Linked DNA regions of Homo sapiens: region 2 is linked to region 1. Evidence: promoter capture Hi-C in 16 types of primary human blood cells and fetal thymus (Javierre and others, 2016). All regions are on one chromosome and are shown on one strand. Each heading gives the region's core, a stretch centred on a gene start or on the middle of the fragment in contact. The rest is flanking DNA. Distances are from core to core; before and after follow the strand shown.

What was found. Contacts are between HindIII fragments. The CHiCAGO score rates a contact against its expected background, and 5 or more counts as called.
Region 2: a fragment that was not itself captured here is called in contact with the fragment with the promoter of E2F7 in region 1 in 1 of 17 cell types (endothelial precursors); the score reaches 5.8 in endothelial precursors.

The regions. Positions count from the first base shown.
Region 1 is chr12:77,064,165-77,069,441 of GRCh38, reverse strand. It overlaps E2F7 (E2F transcription factor 7), which reads left to right and starts at 3,873. Exons shown (of 13, transcript NM_203394.3): 1 at 3,873-4,097; 2 at 4,807-4,899. The coding sequence starts at 4,807. RefSeq lists enhancers at 3,254-3,483, 3,219-3,925 and silencers at 3,534-3,963, 3,984-4,033. The HindIII fragment of the contact is 4,360 bases long and covers 3,135-5,277 here.
Region 2 is chr12:77,933,581-77,938,829 of GRCh38, reverse strand. All of the region lies in intron 1 of NAV3 (neuron navigator 3), which reads right to left. Among named protein-coding and RNA genes, the nearest start is that of NAV3, 110 kb to the right of the region's middle. The HindIII fragment of the contact is 816 bases long and covers 1,564-2,379 here.

The DNA of each region.
Region 1 (5,277 bases), core at 2,624-5,123:
TGTTGGTGGGAGTGTAAATTAGTTCAACCATTGTAGAAGACAGTGTGGCAATTCCTCAAGGATCTAGAACCAGAAATACCATTTGACCCAGCAATCCCATTACTGGGGTATATACCCAAAGGATTATAAATCATTCTACTATGGAGACACATGAAGAGGTTTATTGCAGCACTGTTCACAATAGCAGAGACTTGGAACCAACCCAAATACCCATCAGTGATAGACTGGATAAAGAAAATGTGGCACTTATACACCTTGGAATACTATGGAGCCATAAAAAAGGATGAGTTCATGTCCTTTGCCAGGACATGGATGAAGCTGGCAATCATCATTCTCAGCAAACTAATACAAGAACAGAAAACCAAACACCACATGTTCTCACTAACGAATGGGAGTTGAACAATGAAAACACATGGACACAGGGAGGGGAACATCACATGCCAGGGCCTGTCATGGGGTAGGGGGCAAGGGGAGGGGTAGGGGTAGCAAGGGGAGGGGTAGCTTTAGGAGAAATAGCTAATGTAGATGACCGGTTGATGGGTGCAGCAAACCACCATGCCATGGCACGTGTATACCTATGTAACAAACCTGCATGTTCTGCACATGTATCCCAGAACTTATTTTTATATATATATATATATATATATATATACACACACACACACACACACACACACACACACATATATATATATATATAGAGAGAGAGAGAGAGAGAGAAATATGGCCCCAAATTCTTTGACACTTCTCCCATTGAGAGTGAGGTATATGTCTTCTCCCCTTGAATGTGGATGGATTTTTGACTGTTTCCTCCCAAAAACTGTAGTGGAATTGATGCTATCAGTTCTTAGGCTACGTCACAAAAGGTGATACTATTTCCACTTTGCTACATGACACATTCATTTTGGATCCCAGGAGCCACCCTGGAAGAAGTCCAACTACCTTGAGCTACCAGGATATCTAGACCAGGCCATATGGAGAGGTCACATGTCGAGACTCTTCTTGATACTCCAGCCTAGTTCCCAGCCAACATCAGTGTCAACTGAATTACCGAGAGATTAACAGGTTATGTATGCATTCTGGGACTTAAAAACATCAATATAAATAAGTGTGTTGGAATAATGTCTCTGAATTTGTCCATCAAACATTTATTTTTCAGTTTTCCTCCAAATCTAAGATAACTCTTATAATCAATGAAATTATAAGTGCCTGAAGTGATGTATCCAACTGAGTTTTTTTTGTAACTTGAATAGAAATTACATTTGTATCAAAATAGAAAAAGTACTTTTACTCTAAAAATGTTAGGAAAAGCCCTGTACCGTGAAACTGTCTAACCTCAAAGAAACGATCATTAGTATTTTGAAATATCAGAGAAATGAATGGACTTTAATAATTTGAATGTTGGTCTAGAAGGCTGAATGGTGGGCCCCAAAAAGGTGTATCCATGTCCTAATCCCCAGAACCCATGAAGGAATGTTACTCTGGAAAGAGGATCTTCCCAGATGCAATTAAATTGAAGATCTCAAGATGAGATCATCCTGGACTATCCAGGTGGGACCTAAATTCATTGACAGGTGTCCTCATAGGAGACACACAGGAGAGACTTAACAGACAAAAGAGAAAGCAACGTAACTATGGAGGTAGAAATTGGAGTGAGGCTGCCACGTGTCAAGGACTGTTAACAGCCACCAGAAACTGGAAGAGGAAAAGGACAAGAGCCCCAGAGGGAGTGTGGCCCTGGGAATACCTTAACTTTCCAGAACTGTGAGAGACTAAATCTCTGTCCTTATAAGCCAGTTGTAATTTGTTACAACAGCCATAGAAAATGAATACTGTTGGGAAAAGTATTTCCTTATCTAAACTTCTGCTTCCACATATGTGCAAAATTTAATAAGTTGCAATTTTTTATTGTTTAAACTTCTCATTAGGTTTCTACCTACAAAAGAGATTTCAGTTCAAAATGTTATTCCTATAAAAAATGTCAGATTTTTATTACTATTTTCTTTTGTTTAATGTTTTGCATACTTTTCTCTTTTCAATGTATGACCTAGCAGTGATTTTTTTTTTTTTAGGCCGTATTTACCAGCAATCTAGAGTACGAAGTGAAGGACTTGATTGAGCATTCTGAATTCTGCTGAGAGTTCATTTAAAATATATGTATTTGAGGCCGGGCACGGTGTCTCACACCTGTAATCCCAGCACTTTGGGAGGCCAAGGCAGGCAGGCAGATCACCTGAGGTTAGGAGTTCGAGACCAACCTGGCCAACACAGCAAAACCCCATCTCTACTAAAAATACAAAAATTAGCTGGGCGTGGTGGCGCACGGCTGTAGTCCCAGCTACTCGGGAGGCTGGGGCAGAGAATCGCTTGAACCCAGGAGGTGGAGGTTTCAGTGAGCCGAGATTGGGCCACTACACTCTAGCCTGGGTGACAGTGCAAGACTCCGTCTCCAAAAATAAAATAAAATAAAAATATTTGGAGGGTAAGTGGTGAAGAATGGAGTCTTGGTATAGAAAGGAAAATGATACCTTTGCTGTAAAGTAGATGGGGGGTAGGGACATGTCTGTACATTTAAGAATGTCTGATGCTTTAAGAAGGCTGTCTCACATTTCAGTTGAGGGATATCTTACAAAATACTTGACCAATACTACTCAAAAATGTCCAGGTATCAAAAATGAGGAAAGTATGAGAAACTGTCATAGCCAAGAGGAGCCTAGAGACATAGGAACTAAAGGTAATGTGGTATCCTGAACAGAAAAAAGGGCCATTAGGAAAAAATTAAGTAAATCTGAATAAAGTAATGACTTGAGCTCAGAAGAATGTACCAATATTAGATCATTAATTTCAAAAAATATTCTATACTAACACAAAATGTTAATAGTGGGTGAAATTGGGTGCTGAATATATGGGAATTCTTGGTACTATCTCAATTTTTCTGTAAATTGAAAACTTCTAAACAATAAAGTCTGTTTTGTAAAAAGTCCATCTCTACCAACATTCATATTTTAAACAAGAAACTGTAGGATGAAAGAAGTGAAACATTTAATACAGATCAGTGGTGTTGAGGAAATTTTCTAGACTGTCTCCCAGAATGCTAGTCCCTATTGCAAAGAACTACTTTTTTATATAAAGCTTTTTCCCTCCTAATTATTTGCAATTTGCCGAAAAGGGAACACCAAAAAACATTTCCGGATTTGCCACACACACAAAACAAACAAACAAAAAAAAGTTAGAAAAACTTCTGGTTTGGCTTCCAGTCTTGTCTCCAGGGCTAACTGGCGTGCCATCTGCTCGCAGCAGAGCGGTAACCATGGTTCATGTGTCACACCAGCGTGCGATGTTAAGAAGTTTGCCCCGGCAAGTCTGGACAACTCCGCTTCCGCACAGGTTGCTGAGGGCGGGCGGGGATGGCGGCAGCAGCATCCAGAGGGTGTAGATCGTTCTTCCAAACCCCATCTGCTTTCCTGTCCTCTGGCTGTGCCCGGGGTCCCCGGGCGCGGCAAGCCGCGGGGACGTGCGCGGGTCTTCTATGCATAACAAAAGAGCCCTCCTCCTCCTCTTCCTTCTCCCGCCGCCCCGCGCCGCCCCGCGCCGCCCCCACCTTGGCTTCCCGCGGCCGCCGGGGCCCGCGTCCCCAGCAGGAATTGGCTCCCGGGCCCGAGGTTTCCAGGTACCCGGAAGGGGGAGGGGGCCGAGGCGGCAACAATTGGGCGGGTGAGGGCAAAACGCGCGGCTCGGAGCGCCAAGACTCCGAGGGGCGGTGAGCCCGGGCCGTGCCGCCGCACGATTGGCCGGGGCCGCCCCGCCGGCCGCCGCTGATTGGTGGATTCTCAAATTCGGTCTCAAGGCGCCAGAGGAGGTGTTTTAGCGGGGACTACGATCCAGGCTGGAGTTGCGCTCGGCCGGTCTGAGCGCTGGCGCTGCCCGGACGCCGCGGGGTCCCCGCCAGCCCAGGGCACTCGGCGCGGGGATCTGCGCGCCTCGCTCTCCCTTCCCGATGCCGCCGCCCGGCTGCTGATCGCCGCACCACCTTCCCTCATCGGCTTGGGTCCGTGGAGGTCCCTGCAGAGGCAGGAAGCCTCCTTAGGAAAGCAGGGGTAAGCGTGCGGCCCCAGCGCCAGTGGGGAGGCGGGAATTGGGATACAGGGCCCACTCCCGCCCCGGCTGCCAGCCTGCCACTCCTCACGTCCCCCGGCTGGCGAGGGCTCGAGGTGTTTCTGCCGGGGAACCCGGTGCGCAGAGGGTGTGCCGGGTGCAGCTCTCACTCCGGCCCGGCAGTAGAGGGGATTTGCCCTTCCCCACAACTTGGAGCTTTCATTGGAGAAGTTTATTTGGGGGATCTGCTTGGAGGCCTGGGAAGGGGCTGCGCTCAGCGCTGAGTGGGTTTGGTCTAGCGATCGGGTTTCCTTCCCCCGATTCAAAACCCCTCAAAGCCGAATTCCTCTCAGTTCTTTGCGCCAAAATTAACTGACCTGGGAGACCCTGTACTTTTCTGACAGATTTGCCCAACACCCTTCCGACTTGGTAACTTTATTTTGCCATCTAGCTTTTCATAAGGAGTTACTATTTTTGTAGATTTTTTTCTTCCCAGATTTTCAGTATTACTAAGCACACTTTAGGTGTTTGAGTTTGTTCGCGTGAGTTTTAGAAAGTTGAGGGTGGCTACAACTCCTGGAAATGCCCAGGATGTGCTTAGAGAAGGGGGAATTTCATATTGACAAACAAGTAACACATATGTAGATATTTTTGTTTGAGGAAAAAATACCTAATTGCAAAATCATTTTCTAGTGTAATTGTGCATTACAGATGGAGGTAAATTGTTTAACACTAAAAGACCTGATCAGCCCCAGGCAGCCCAGACTAGATTTTGCAGTTGAAGATGGGGAAAATGCACAAAAGGTAAGCAAACATAAACACCTTAGTTTCTAATATGTTAAGGATGGTGATGTTGAATTCAATTAAGTGTTCCAACATGCCATTTGTATTTGTATTTAAGCATAATAATTAATATTGATAAACATTATAGAAACATTCTTTTTTAAAAATAGAGCCATCCAAACCATTATTGTTGGAATTCTACTCTCAGATATAGTGGGAAAAATAGGCAAGGTTACATGTAATGTTGTAACCAATTTATATAAGTCAAAAATATGCTGGCTACAGCAATCAAAGTTTATAATACAGTTGTCAAGGGTGGTGTAGCTAGTGCTCTGTAGGAATGCTAAGCCTCAGTTCCCAGGAAAATAGACCTTTGCAGGCATAAATGCTGGATTATTA
Region 2 (5,249 bases), core at 722-3,221, 870 kb before region 1:
CATGTATGTTCATCTATTTTTAATATTGCATTATATATATCAATCCCCCAGTTGATAGATATTTGACTTGTTTAAATGTGTTTCTATTATATCTAAAGTTGCAAGAGACAGCCTGACATATGTACCTTCCTGAACTCATATGCTAGTATTGTTATATGTCAAAAACCTAGAAATGGGGCTGCTAAGTGTTTTGAATGAATCTTGGGTCTAAATATCACAAGATTACAACACAGAAGAAAAAGTGTTCCTTTCTATTAGAAAATACAAAGTAGTCCTACTGGCATCATAAGACTAGTACATATCTGGTGGTGATTAAGTTTCTTGAAAGATGTAAACAACTGGAAGCATCCCATTGCATAAGAAAAATATATGTGAGAGCAAAATTGCATCTCCTTTTATTAATATCCATGATCTCTATGTTGAAGATATTGAAGGGTAAGAAAAATTACTTGCATAACTGTCTCCTGAATTAGCACACAAATACATGATTTTTAGGTGGATGCTTTTATTTGGTAATAATTTTTCTCAGTTAAGATTTGATTATATTTGTATGATCATACATTTTTTGGAAGGATTTTATACTGTTTAGAATTTAAAACATTGAGCACACTCCCCTTCTTAACACTTCATTTAAATGATAGAATTGTTTTGGCCTTCTAGTAGAAACTTCAGGTTAAGTCAGACTTGAGTTGTGCCGATCTGTCCATAGGCAAAGACTGGGGCCATGGGTTGAAAAAGGATTCACAAGGGTGAGGAGAATGAGTTCTGGAGTCAGACAGATCTGACTTGAGACCACTTACTACCAGTGGAACCCTGGACAAGTTACTTAACCTTCAGATTCCTCTTGTAAAAAAAAGTCTTGTTGTAAAACAAGGAGAAAAATAATACTTACATTATAGGATTGTGCCAGGACTAAATAAGATAGCACTTGTAAAGCATCTGTCACAAAGCTAGTCATGAAAAAACATGCTTGCTATTATTATCATCACATGGCATCTAGTTTTATTTTGCTGTGATAGCTTTCCAACAAATACTTGTTAAAGTTATAATTTCACAAATGTTAAGAAAATTGAGAAGGCTGGCATCAGAAGACTAAAGAAATTGTAGTAATTGCTTCTGACACTACTCCTATCACTAATTCTGCCTGCCTTCCACTTCACAGGTGTTGTGAATCTGTCTGCCATCTGAACTCAGGGAAATCTAAATAACAGATTAAGGCTGTCATATTCTCATTCAGACCTGTAATGTCTCTATTGTGGCACCACTTCCATCAAACTGTATTTCGTTGGTTTTGTTTTATGATAACATTAATTATACAAAAACATTTGTTTAAATAAAAAACAAAATGATATGAATGGAAAGTGAAAATAAGAATACTTTCATTCTCCAAATGCATGTCAACAGTTCCTTAGCCTTTATCCAAATTCATCCTGGGACTTAGGTGAGAAAACAAATGGGAGGCCAGCTAGTTGGCTTCAAGATACCTTGTTGGTAATACCTGTGTTTTAGCTCACAAATCATTTTTTGTTTGATCCAGAATTTCTTCCAGAGGAATCCCAAGCTTAAGGGCTTTGATATGTCCAGCATCTCTAATATCTGAAACTTTGCTCAGGCCGTATTTCTAACTTCAGCTGCAATCAGTGAGAGCAATGGCTATATAAAGAAATTTAATGCAAATTTAAAAATAATTGTAGTACACTTTATTTGTTCCTTCTAATAAACAGCTGTGTCTTCCATACTTAAAAGATACTTGAGACCCTCCAAGGAAATGACAAGAGAGGGAAAACCAGTGCCTTCCAAAAGGATATTATAATCTAGATGGTGAAATATTTCAAAAATTACAAAGTAACATGTAAATATATTTTAAAATATTATATACAAACATACTTCTCTCTTTCAAAATTGTATATGTGTAAGTTGAATACAAAGGTGGAAAAATGAGTTGTGTCTTTAAGGAGACTTCGAGCAAAGGACACATGGTATAAAAATGTATTTAAAACTCATCAATAAATGTACTGTAATGCCGTGATGAGAGAGAATACAAACAACCTTGTCAACTGTCATTAGAATGTGATCTTTAAATAAATACAACAGGATGGTGAAATCAGGTCCTGAAATTGGATTTGAACTCCAAAATTGCCCTCAGTTCATTATCACAAAAATAATAATCACAGTATTTAACATTTTAGTTTCAGCTGAATGAGTTACAAAATGTGCAGTAATGTATTTTGCAGGCTTATGCTATGAATTAATTATAGTTTTTTTAGTGAAGAAATTGGTATAATTGGGAACAATATCAAACTAATCATAATTCAGTGTTTGGTAATTTTTGTAAAAGGGTCATTGAAGATTTTAATCATGAATGTTCTGGCTAAAGCTTCCAATACGATTTATCTCTGGAAATCTGAAGCCAGTCTTCTTCGACTGTTTTGATGAACTTCAACGTGATGAATATAAATATCATCCCATCTAATAATTTTATCTCAAGGAATTCAGAAGAATTACTGAGATTGCGTTTACAAGAGGGCTACTTAGAAATTCTAGTACAATTGCATGCATAATCATTCATTAACCATAATTAAAAGTGATAAAAATCAAAGGTATCATGGTATATTTTACATTTATCAGTATGAATTTTGGGGCCTATTATGCAATAGCATGTATTCTTTGAGGAACAATTCACATTGTTGGAATGTCTGCTCTGCCACTTAATATTTGTGCAGACTTTGATTGAACATTTCTTTTCTCTAAATTCCCCAGTATTCTCATCTGTAAAATGGCAATAATATTATAACCTACTGATACGGTTTAGCTCTGTGTCCCCACCCAAATCTCATGTTGAATTGTAATTCCCAGTATTGGAGGAGGGGCCTGGTGGGAGGTGACTGAATCATGGGGGCAGACTTCTTCCCTTGCTGTTCTGATAGAGTTCTCATGAGATCTGGTTTTTCTGAAAGTGCGTAGCACATCCCCCTTGGCTCTCTCTCTTCCTCTGGCTCCCACCACGTAAGATGATCTTGCTTCTCCTTCACCTTCCACCATGACTGTAAGTTTCCTGAGGCCTCCCCAGCCATGCTACCTTTGGAGCCTGCAGAACTGTGAGTCTATTAAACCTCTTTTCCTTACAAGTTACCCAGTCTCAGGGATGTCTTTATAGCAGTGTGAAAACAGACTAATACCTCAACCAATGGAATTATTGTGAGGATTTAATGAATTTCTACTTTGGAATATGGACTTTCACTATGTTAAATATTGTTATTAGTAGCTCACTGCTTTAATATGAAATACATTTCCATTAACCATGAGAAATATTGTAAACCATTATTATTGTTAAACTCTTAAATCATATATATTCATCCAAATATAGTTTACCTAACTAATTAAGGAAAATTGCAGGAAGTTGTAATGACCTTGTAGCTTCATCATTTGCCTCTATGATATTTCTCTTACAGTGCTCATTATTCACTATAAATATGAGGATGAAATAGAAGGCAACATATATGATACCATATTTCTTTTGAGAAGTGAACCTGCTATGAAGAAACAACATCAGAAAAAGATCTACTCTGATTTTCCTTGAAGTCCTAAACATTTGTGATTTTTTTTTACTACTGACAGTATTACATACTATCTTTGTCTGTCACAGCAAGCTGCTCCTACATTTTTAAAAATTATTTATTTTAGCATTTGGTTAGTATTTTATAAGTAACCTACCACTCAGTTATATAAAAATGATTATAACTATTTTTGTTATTCCATACACTACATAGAGGTATATGTGTTTCAATGGGATAAAGTAACTTATTTTTAAGGAATCCTAAATAATCGAAGAAGTAGGGAGAAGTGATAGGGGAAAGACTGCCTCTTCATTGAAGTTAAAAGTCTGTTTGAATAAAAACACACTAATCTGTAACCTGATTAGAAGATATTATGAATATAATCAGAGGATTTAAAAATATTAGCTGAGCTAATTTTAACCCTGTACTTATTTAAAACATTATTGTTTTCCTTCAACATTCAAGCAGTAGCATTACATTTCTATAAGCACTGCTCCCTGGTATGTTCAAATTACTGGCTTTGTAAAGTTAAATGGGTTCTTCTAAGACATAACAGGAATTGTGTTGAAGACCAAGGGTTTCTATGATAATAACTGGACTTCTACATCTTAAAAAGCAGCAAAAGACTAAGCATATAAAGTGCAACCAGAAATCATACCTTAGGGAAAGGTGATCAGTGAAGTAAGTGTTTTTCCCACAAAAAGAAAAACTAGTATAGGGAAGAGAATTGGAAGGAAAAGGAGCCCTAGAACAGATTTAAGAGGTTACCTCTCTGGACTGAGTTTCAAAGTAGCATTTGGACCTGAGAATGGAATCACAAAGGACAACATTGACCACAACAGTATAGGAAAGCATACTTTTTTTTTATAATTTCCCAAGAGCCATATGGAATTTTCTGGAAGAAAGAAGTGATCCTAGAGAGCACTTGAAATCAGGACAGGAAGGATGTATAGAGCTGGCACAGAAAAGCAAAAAGGGCACAGAAGATGTGAGGATAGGTTAAAATAAGTCAAGTTATGTATGACAGGAATCCTACCTTCGGGCACTCATCAGACAGCAGCCTTGGTGGGTAGCAATGGCAATGAACAAGCTGTGTCACCCCTGGTGCCATGATAATAAGGAACCACAATCAACAACCCTCCCCAGCCCATCACTGCAGAAAGAAAAGGAAGAATCTGGAACTGAATGAGCCTGGCCCTCAAACACTGAGTTTTAAACTGAAAGTGATTATGTTACTTTGAACTGAGATAAATACATTTTCTCCTACTATACAGAGAAAGAGGCTTAAAAGGTGAAGTTATATATTTTTTCAAAGATATAATTTTGTACACCACAGTTTTAAGACTCAAAAATTCAAAAATGGTAGGCAACATTGGACAAAGAAGGTTGCAAAATCACAGTGTGGGATTAAGACACAATACATACTATTTTTAGATGTTTTGAAAAGTTGATCACAGACTGGATCTGCAGTTGTTGTTACAGAACTGATATGACCAAAAGATCTGTGAATGAGTCCAATCTCATGACTCTTGTAGGCCTTCTAGAAATCTCAATAGCTCATGTGGTATAATTATGAAACGAATCCATTAAAAGTTTTGGGTAACATCATATTGTCACAATATATGTAATACATTCACCATCTAGCTAGTTCACCTCAGTCTGTACAGATAGTTCACCTCAATATTCACATTA